2 separate regions of the Homo sapiens genome follow, and region 2 is linked to region 1. Evidence: promoter capture Hi-C in human tissues and cell types (Jung and others, 2019). All regions are on one chromosome and are shown on one strand. Each heading gives the region's core, a stretch centred on a gene start or on the middle of the fragment in contact. The rest is flanking DNA. Distances are from core to core; before and after follow the strand shown. Region 1 holds the start of HNF4A (hepatocyte nuclear factor 4 alpha). Region 2 has its middle 11 kb from the start of LINC01430.

What was found. The method cuts DNA at HindIII sites, captures the fragments that hold promoters and counts their contacts. A contact is called where the count stands out against the background at its distance.
Region 2: a fragment that was not itself captured here is called in contact with the fragment with the promoter of HNF4A in region 1 in 3 of the 25 tissues and cell types used here (heart right ventricle, hippocampus and pancreas).

What each region holds. Positions count from the first base shown.
Region 1 is chr20:44,352,605-44,357,879 of GRCh38, forward strand. It overlaps HNF4A (hepatocyte nuclear factor 4 alpha), which reads left to right and starts at 3,095. Exons shown (of 10, transcript NM_175914.5): 1 at 3,095-3,249. The coding sequence starts at 3,201. It overlaps R3HDML-AS1 (R3HDML antisense RNA 1), which reads right to left and starts at 2,638. Exons shown (of 4, transcript NR_184036.1): 1 at 2,415-2,638. It overlaps HNF4A-AS1 (HNF4A antisense RNA 1), which reads right to left. Exons shown (of 3, transcript NR_172878.1): 3 at 4,140-5,275. RefSeq lists an enhancer at 427-926. The HindIII fragment of the contact is 37,265 bases long and covers 1-5,275 here.
Region 2 is chr20:44,436,937-44,442,315 of GRCh38, forward strand. No RefSeq gene overlaps it. Among named protein-coding and RNA genes, the nearest start is that of LINC01430, 11 kb to the right of the region's middle. The HindIII fragment of the contact is 6,695 bases long and covers 1-5,168 here.

The sequences.
Region 1 (5,275 bases), core at 1,845-4,344:
ACTTTACAGATGAGATAAATGAGGCATGGGGTGAGTACTAGCTTCCAAATGCTGGAAATGAGTGAAATAAGAGAATTAAGAGGTTGGGCGTGGTGGCTCATGCCTGTAATCCCAGCACTTTGGGAGGCCAAGGCGGCAGATAGCTTGAGGCCAGGAGTTCAAGACCAGTCTGGGCAACACAGTGAAACCCTGTCTCTACTAAAATTACAAAAATTAGCCAAGCATGGTGGGGCACGCCTGTAATCCCAGCTACTCAGGAGGCTGAGACACCAGAATTGCTTGAACCCAGGAAGTGAAGGTTGCGGTGAGCCAAGACTGCACCACTGCACTCCAGCCTGGGTGACACAGCAAGTCTGTGTCTCAAAAAAAAAAAAAAAAAGAGAGAGAGAATTAAGGACACTGTTGTGAGTTCATTGTTCTTAGACTATATCTTTCCTACTTTATTTTTTGGAATGGGCTCTCGAAGGCAGTATCAGAAATGGAAAACCGAAGAGATCACGTGGAATTCCCACCTTACAGTGGCACTTTTGGCTTGTCTCTTCCCTGGCACAGTGGCTCATACCTGTAATCCCAGCACTTTGGGAGGCCAAGGAAGGTGGATCACCTGAGTTCAGGAGTTCCAGACCAGCCTGACCAACATGGTGAAACCCCGTCTCTACTAAAAATACAAAATTAGCCAGGCGTGGTGCTGTGTGCCTGTAATCCCAGCTACTTGGGAGGCTGAGGAAGGAGAATCGCTTGAACCCAGGAGGCGGAGGTTAAAGTGAGCCGAGATGGCGCCATTGCACTCCAGCCTGGACAACAAGAGCAAAACTCTGTCTCAGAAAAAAAAAAAAAAAAAAAAGAACAGATTTAATGAAACTTCTTGAATCCCAGTTTTTACATCTGTAAAATGGGAATATTGACAGTGACAATTCAATGACGTTAAGAATATACAATGCTGACAAACTAAAGAGTTCATAAATGCCAGTGGTTGTCATCCTCATTATCCTGGTGCTCAGGAAGGCAATGTGAGACCTGTTGAAATAGCACGGGCTTTGGGGTCAGATGATGCTGAATTCCAGTTCTGTGTTGGCTCCTTCGTAGTTATGTGACCTCATGACGCCACTTCATGCAGGGGGTTACGTACCACTTAAATCTCCAGAACATTTTGGGAAATTGACATAGGGTTAGCAAACCTCCCCCACCCCCATATAAAAATATTAATACTTTTTTTTTTTCTGAGATGGAGTCTGGCTCTGTCGCCAAGGCTGCAGTGCAGTAGTGCAATCTTGGCTCACTGCAACATTTGCCTCCTAGGTTGAAACGATTCTCCTCCTTCAGCCTCCCGAGTAGCTGAGATTACAGGTGCTCGCTGCCACACCCAGCTAATTTTTGTATTTTTAGTAGAGATGGGATTACACCGTGTTGGCCAGCCTGGTCTCAAACTCCTGACCTCAAGTGATCCACCTGCCTCAGCCTCCCAAACTGCTGGGATTACAGGCATGAGCCACTACACCCGACCAAGAATATTAATACTTTTTTTTAAAAAATATCGAAGTTATTTATTTATTTATTTATTTATTTATTTATTTATTTATTTTGAGATGGAGTCTCTCTCTGTTGCCCAGGCTGGAGTGCAGTGGCACGATCTTGGCTCACTGCAACCTCTGTCCCCCTGGTTCAAACGATTCTCTTGCCTCAGCCTCCCGTTTGCCACCATGCCCGGCTAATTTTTTTATTTTTGGTAGAGACGGGGTTTCACCATGTTGGTCAGGCTGGCCTCAAACTCCTGACCTCGTGATCGGTGCGCCTCGGCCTCCCAAAATGCTGGGGTTACAGGCGTGAGCCACTGCACCCGGCCCCAAAATCTAACGTTTGTTATCACTGTTGTTTTAGAAAAGAAAGGACATTTTAATGCAACCCATGCCCATCTGTAGGGGCTGAAGGTCCCTCTGAGGTGATTGATAAAGCTGAAAAAAGAGACTATGGGAAGAGAAGAGGAATATTATCAATTAGCTATTTTAGAAGCAGGGCAAACTATGAGCTAGGTATTCCTATAAGGAAATGAAATAATTTACTAAAAAACATACAGCAAGAAAATAATAGAGCTGGAGTTTTCTGATTTTTCTGAGTCCAGAATTTGTTTCACTGTTCTCATTTCAGCTCTCTCTAACAGGATGAATGACCTTGATTTCAGAATCCCCAAGCAGGTGGTGAGATCCAAAACTGAGACAAAAGAAACGGGGCTGTTCCAAAAAAAAAGCTAGGTGGCAGGTGTCTAACATGCCAGGGAGCTAAAACAGAGTGTGTGAGTTTCAGCAGCAGGTTGAATTTAGAATGGGGAAGGAGACCAGAGGAGACGCCAGACAGGATGACTTTGTCCCATTGGCCTGGAGGCAGCCCCATGTTTCTCCACCCCTCATATCACTCACCAGTTTGTAATAGTATCTTTGAATGACGATCTGATTAAGGTCCGTCTCCTCCATTAGTCCACAAGTTTCGGGGGTACATCTACTTTGCTCATTTCCATATCCCCAGAGTCTAGCACAAGGCCTGGTACATAGTAGGTGCTCAATAAATATGTTAGATGAAAGGAAGATAACACCTCTATGTACTAGCAGTGAGACTCCAGGCATGCAATTTCTCTCTGTCCTTCAGTCCCTTCATCTCAAGGTTTAATTTAAATATGGTAACGCCTGTATGCAACTCCCAGCATCCAGTAGGCACTCACTAAACACAGTTCTCCACCCTCCTTTTTTCCTCTGCCCCTCCCTCGGTTTTCCCACTACTTCCTGCATGGTGACACACCCATAGTTTGGAGCCATAAAACCCAACCCAGGTTGGACTCTCACCTCTCCAGCCCCTTCTGCTCCGGCCCTGTCCTCAAATTGGGGGGCTGATGTCCCCATACACCTGGCTCTGGGTTCCCCTAACCCCAGAGTGCAGGACTAGGACCCGAGTGGACCTCAGGTCTGGCCAGGTCGCCATTGCCATGGAGACAGCAACAGTCCCCAGCCGCGGGTTCCCTAAGTGACTGGTTACTCTTTAACGTATCCACCCACCTTGGGTGATTAGAAGAATCAATAAGATAACCGGGCGGTGGCAGCTGGCCGCACTCACCGCCTTCCTGGTGGACGGGCTCCTGGTGGCTGTGCTGCTGCTGTGAGCGGGCCCCTGCTCCTCCATGCCCCCAGCTCTCCGGCTGGGTGGGCTTGGCCATGGTCAGCGTGAACGCGCCCCTCGGGGCTCCAGTGGAGAGTTCTTACGGTAAGTGGGGCTGGGGGAAGACTGGACAGGGCGGGACTGCGGTCAGCTTTGGGAGGCCATGGGACACCTCCCCGTGTGTTTCTTACGGGCCCAAAGCTCCTCCTGGAGCTCCTCTGGAAGGGCAGGAAGCCCCACGGAGGCAATGTGACCGCTTCCCTAAGCTCTCAAGCCGGGGCATGGCCTGCTTGGTGCGAGAAGTGCTGGGAGGGGCCGAGAAGCCCTGGGGCAGAGGCTTGGCTCATTTTGTCTGTCCAGAGGCCTTCCTGGGAATGCATCTCAGGGGTCTTTCCAAAACCCCACAGAGGGTGGGGCTTGGAAGCACCGTCCTGTTTCGATGCGGGGCAAATTGAGGTCCACCAGGAGAGGCTTGCTGGGCCTAGGTCACGTTGCTGGTGCATTATCAAGCTGGGCGTGGGACCGGGCAGCTCGGTCGCTCCGCACCTCCGTTGGCTCTGGATAATGGGGAGGAGGTAGAAAGCGCCGCGCAGGGTGGAGCGTTGGAAAATGAGAATATCTTGTGCGGACGTGTGAAACTCAGATGCAGGGCTAGAAAGCATGTGTTACTGAGAGTGAAAGGCTCAGGCTCACTCCTTAGGGTGACCCCCACATTGGAAGCAACCCAATGTCCCTCAGCAGAGGGAAGACGGGTAAATAAAGCGTGAGACGTCTTTACAGTGGAATGCTATCCCATTGTTCAAGGAAACAACGCACATCTGTGTGTGACAGGGAAGAACCTCTCAGTTAAATTAAGTGAAAACGGTACACTGAAGAACTGTGTAGTTGCTGATAGCGAAACGGATATAGATGTATATATGTACACACGCGTATACGTGTACATTCCACGCATAGAAAATTCGTGGAATGACACAATAAAATTGGTGACAGGTTTGTTTCTGAGGAGGGAAATTCAAGAGAATGTTTTATCTTTTGGGGACACATTTTGGATTTTTTAAAAGTTGGGTGCCTTTTATAAACCTGTTCAAATCACACACCCGCACAGAACTTGGTCTCTGGAATCCAGCAGACCTCGGGGTCTAGTTGTGACTCTGTCACACGGCTCAACATTCACGTGCCTCTTGCTTTCTTTCTGAAGTGGAGACAGGACTAGGATGTGTCTTAAGATCATGGTGGATGCCGTGGGGAACAAGGATGTAAAGCCCTTGATACCACGTGCATTGCAAAGACACAATCAACATTTATGTCATCAATTGCTGAGGACAGAGGGCCAGGGAATGACAGAATCAGGGCCTGATCTCCTGACTCTAGTCAGGAAGAATCTTCTTTGCTTTGACCCCCATCAAACAGGAATATGTGATGCACTGGAAATGGCAGAGGCTGAAGAAACCAACAGCCTGGGAACCCATCCCACACACCAGCTGTGTGACCTTGGGCAAGACATTTCCCCTCTCTGAACCTATTTCCTCATCTGTAAAATGAAGATAACAACAGGACCTATCTCCCAGAGAGCGGGGAGATTAGAGGAGATAGCATAGAGGAGATTAAGGGTGAGGCCACCCTTAATCCACAATTTTAAGACCTGGAGTATAGATGCCAATGGATGACTTGGTTGAACCTGTGGCTAGGGGAAGACATTGTCTCTCAAAGGGGCCAGACAGCTTCTGGGGAAGGACAGCCCAGGTCATAAGGCTAAGCTAGGGGTGAACAGAAGGCCCCACAGTGTCTCTTAAAGGATGATACAATAATATAACCTGACAGCCTTTCACTGTCTCCCACGTCTCTGCACCTTGTAGGATGTCCTCATGTCTCTTCATCTCTGCTCCTGTGTCATACTCATTATATAGCAAACATTCAGCAATTATTAGAATGGTTGCTTCTATCGACAGGTAGGTGGGTGAATGGATGGATGAATGGGTTAGTGAATGTTCTACTATTATCTCTCAGACAGCTGTTTCATTTTCCAAACGGCTGTCTGAGATAAATAATATTGTAATCTCCAAGGACAGAAGAAAAAACTAAGGTTCAAGATTAAAAAAAAAACACAAACAAACAAAAAATGTCATCTGAC
Region 2 (5,379 bases), core at 571-3,070, 83 kb after region 1:
ATCAGTTCAACATGATTCCCCTTAAACTTCAGGTCACTGACATAAATAGGAAACCAGCATCATTTGCCGTAAATAAGAGGTGACTGCAAAATTAGTGAAAAGAAAACAATGTTTTTCAGCTGCAGCCAGGTGGAATCGCCCCAGGGAAAGCTCTGCTCTTGTTTTCGTATTAAAAAGGAAAACTGACAAATATTACAGAGATGTTACGGGCATACACGTACCCAATGGAGACTTTCTCCTTAAAGCTTTCAGAAAAGGCCTGTAAAGGACAGACTTTGGGGACAATATCACTTAATACCTTCCAGTATGTTTCTAAAACTTCCCCCAGTTCCACTGGAAGCCCTCATCCACTTCTGGAAGCTCACTCACTAGGACAGCTGGCCCGCACACAAGTGGTGGGGACCTCAAATACTGGACAGAGGAGTATGGAATTTCTTCCGGGGAAAAGGAAGCCACTAGAGGTTTCTGTTTGTTTTTTGAGAGGGGTTCTCGCTCTGTCACCCAGGCTGGAGTGCAATGGCGCGATCTTGGCTCGCTGCAATCTCTATCTCCCAGGTTCTAGCAAGTCTCCTGCCTCAGCCTCCCAAGTAGCTGAGATTACAGGAGCATGCAACCACACCCAGATAATTTTTGTATTTTTAGTAGAGATGGGGTTTCGCCATGTTGGCCAGGCTGGTTTCCAACCCCTGACCTCAAGTGATCCACCCGCCTTGGCCTCCCAATATGCTAGGATTACAGGCATGAGCCGCCACGCCCGGCCCACTGGAGGTTTGAGAGCAGTGAAGGTTGTAGGCAGATCTGTATATATGTATATAAAGATACATATATTTATATATATTATATATTATATATTTATATATTTTATATTATATATTTTTATATTATATATATTTTATATTATATATTTTATATATATTTTTATATATCTATATATTATATATTTTATATATATTTTTATATATTTATATATTATATATTTTATGTATATTTTATATATTTATATATTATATATTTATATATATTTATATATTATATATTTGTATATTATATATTTGATATATTATATATGTTTATATATTATATGTTTATATATTATATATGTTTATATATTATATGTTTATATATTATATATGTTTATATATTATATGTTTATATATTATATATTTATATATTATATGTTTATATATTATATATTTATATATTATATGTTTATATATTATATATTTATATATTATATGTTTATATATTATATATTTATATATTATATGTTTATATATTATATATTTATATATTATATGTTTATATATTATATATTTATATATTATGTTTATATATTATATATTTATATATTATATATGTTTATATATTATATATTTATATATTATATATGTTTATATATTATATATTTATATATTATATATGTTTATATATTATATATTTATATATGTTTATGTATTATATATATTATATATGTATGTATGTTTACATACATATATACATATGTGCGTATGTAAACATACTTATATACATATGTGTGTATGTATGTTTATATACTTATACATATGTATATATATATATTTATACATATATGTGTGTGTGTATATATATATATTTTTTTTTTTTTGAGACAGGGTCTCCCTCTGTCACCCAGGCTGGAGTGCAGTGGCGCAATCACAGCCCACTGCAACCTCTGCCCCCTGGGCTCAAGTGATCCTCCTACCTCAGCTTCCTGAATAGCTGGGACCACAGGCACCAACAACTATTTTTTTGTATTTTTAGTAGAGACGGGGTCTTGCCATGCTGTCCAGGCTTGTCTTGAACTCCTGAGCTCAAGCAGTCCACCCGCCTCGGCCTCACAAAGTGTTGGAATTACAGGTGTGAGCCACTGCACCTGGCCAGATCTGTATCTTTAAAACAACACCCTGGCTGCTTTGTGGCAGACGAAGAGGTGCAACTGTAAGCTGGGAGACCAATGAAGACACAAGTGCACTGGATCAGGTGAGAGGTAGTGATGTCTACAACAAGATGGTGGCAGTGGAGTAGAGAAAAGCACCAATCCAAGAGACTTTCATTCATTCATTCATTCATTCGTTCATTCAACAAATATTTAGTGAGTGTCTATCTGTTGAACATTTTTCTGAGTCTGAGAGGTAGGCAGGGGTGAGACCAGAGGTAGCCTTCTAGGCCACGAGAAAGATTCTGGATTTTCTTGTTGGTATAGTAGGAAGCTCTTCATTTTTGAATAGAGAAGTGATATGATCTGCTTGATGTTCTTAAAAGGCCACTCTCTGCTGTATAGATAATGGACTATGTGGAAAAACAGTGGAAGCAGAGACGCCCACAGGTGGCCTGGGCAGTGGTCCAGGTGAAAGATGATGGCAGCATGGACTAGGGTTGTGGAGTGGGCAGAATTTTTTAAATGCCCCCCAAGACGCCTGCCTTTGGTGCATACACACCTTCTTTCAGTTATCCAATTAGACATGAATCTAGGTGTTCCTGTGAAGAGATTTTGCAGATGTAATTTAAGTCCCAAACCAGCTGACTTTTTGATAGAGAGATATTCTTTGGTGGGCCTGGCCTAATCAGGTGAGGCCATAAAGGGAGCTGAACTCTTTCTATGAAATTAGAAACATGAGAATTAGAAACGTGAGAAATTAGAAATGTGATTCCACATAAGGGAGAGTCTCTGTTGCTGGCTTTGAAGACAAGGGGGCCACTTGGCAAGGGATGCAAGTGGCCTCTAGAAACTGAGAGACCCCTGGCTGACAACCAGCAAGAAAATGGTGACAGGGTGACAGTCCAACGACCATGAGGAACTGAATGCAGGCAACAACATGAATGAGCTTGGATCCTTTCCTAGAGCCCTCAGGTAGGTACACAGCCCAGTCGTTTAAGAACCCGAGCAGGAGACCCAATCACACCACATCTGGACTGCTGGACTATAGACCTGTGAGATCACAAATGGGCAGCGTTTTCTTTTCTTTTCTTTGGAAACAGAGTTTCGCTCTTTTTGCCCAGGCTGGAGTGCAATGATGTGATCTTGGTTCACTGCAACCTCCACCTCCCAGGTTCAAGTGATTCTCCTGCCTCAGCCTCCCAAGTAGCTGGGATTACAGGCATGCACCACCACGCCCAGCTAATTTTGTATTTTTAATGGAGATGGGGTTTCACCGTGTTGGCCAGGCTGGTCTCGAACTCTTGACCTCAGGTAATCTGCCCACCTCGGACTCCCAAAGTGCTGGGATTACAGGCGTGAGCCACTGTGCCCAGCTGACAAATGGGCAGTGTTTTAAGCATCTGCATTTGTGGCAATTTGTTATGCAGCAATAGAAAATGAATACAGGTGGTGGTGGTGAGAGGCGGTCAGAGTGGAGTGTTCTGGAAGTAGAACAGCCAAGAACTTACTAAGGTATGTGAAGGAAAGTAACTGTGGCCAGGTGGTGCTGTCTGTTGACAGAGGAAGACTGGAGGAGCTGCAAATTTGGGTTAGAAAATAAGAGCTTGGTTTTGGATGTGCTGTTTGAGATCCCAATTAAACATCCAGGGACTTGTTGGATATATGAGTCTAGAGCTTGGGGAAAAGTTGGGGCTAGAGATAAAGAGTCTAAGTCATAAGCATAGATGAGAAGTTTAATAATCAACTGGGCTGAGCATGGTGCTCACTCCTGTAATCCCAGAGCTTTGGGAGGCGAAAAAGGGAGAATCCCTTGAGGCCAGGAGTTCGAGACCAGCATCGGCAACACAGCAAAACCCCCGTCTCTACAAAAAATTAAAAAAAAAAAAAAAGGTAGGTGTGCTGGCACATGCCTGTAGTCCCAGCTCCTCTGGAGGCTGAGGCAGGAGAATTGTTTAAGCCCAAAAGTTTGAGGTTGCAGTGAGCCATGATCAAACCACTGCACTTTAGCCTAGATGATAGAGCAAGACCCTGTCTCTATTGAAGAAAAAAAAGTCAATAGGAAGATTGCTCAGCAATAAAAAGAAGAGAACTACTGATACAAACAACATGGGCCCAGTCGTGGTGGCTCTATTCCTAGCACTTCGGGAGGCGGAGGAGGGGGTGGATCATTTGAGGTCAAGAGGTCAAGACCAGCCTGGCCAACATGGTGAAACCCCATCTCTATTAAAAACACAAAAATAAGCTGGGTGTGGTGGCACATGCCTGTAATCCCAGCTACTCAGGAGGCTGAAGCAGAAGAATTGCTTGAACCCTGGAGGCGGAGGTTGCAGTGAGCTAAGATCGAGCCACCGCACTCCAGGCTAGGCGACAGAGGGAGACTTAGTCTCAAAAAAGAAAAAAAAGAAAACCATGGAACTCAAACTCATAACACTAGGTGAAAGAAGCCAGGCTCAGAAGACTACATACTATATGATTCCATCTCTGTGATGTTCTGGAGAAGGCAAAACCATAGACACAGGTATGTGGCTGCCAGGGGCAAGGGCTGGGGTAGGGGTTTGAATACCAAGGGACACAGGGGAGGGGGTTTGGAGTGATGGGAATGCTCTGAGAAAATCTTGATTGTGATGGTGGTGACATGACTGCATACATGTGCCAAAACGTGCAAAAGCATACACTAAAAAGGGCAAATCTTAGTCTATGGAAATTATACCTTAATTTGGCCAGGTGCGGTGGCACACGCCTGTAATCCTAGCACTTTGGGAGGCCAAGGCAGGCGGATCACCTGAGGTCAGGAGTTTGAGACCAGCCTAGCCAATATGGCAAAAGCCCATCTCTACTAAAAATACAAAAATTAGCTGGGCATGGTGGCGCACACCTGTAATCCCAGCTATTCGGGAAGCTGAGGAAGGAGAATCGCTTGAACCCGGGAGGTGGAGAGGTTGCAGTAAGCCGAGATGGCACCACTACACTTCAGCCTGTGCAACAGGAGTGAGACTCCATCTCAAAAAAAAAAAGAAAGAAAATTATACCTTAATTTAACAAATGAAAGAAATGAAAAGCCAATAGTTGCTTGGGCTCATTGAAGAGTGAAGAGAGGAAACAGAAAATAGGTGAGGACTTCACTCTAGGTTGCACCACCATGGAGGTTGGAGAGAGGGAAAGGGAAAGCTGCAAAGAACAAGTGAGGTGAATAGAGGCCGGGCATGGTGGCTCACGCCCGTAATCCCAGCACTTTGGAAGGCTGAGGTGGGAGGATTGCTTGGAGCAATCCTCAGGTCCCTAGGAGTTCAAGACCCACCAGGGCAACTTAGTGAGACCCCCCGATCTCTGCAAATATAAAAAAACTTAACCAGGCGTGGTGGTGTGTGCCTGTAGCCCCAGCTACTTGGGAGGCTGAGGCAGGAAGATTGCTTGAATCCAGGAGTTCGAGGCTGCAGTGACCGTGACCGTAATTGTGTCACTGCACTCCAGCCTGGGAAACA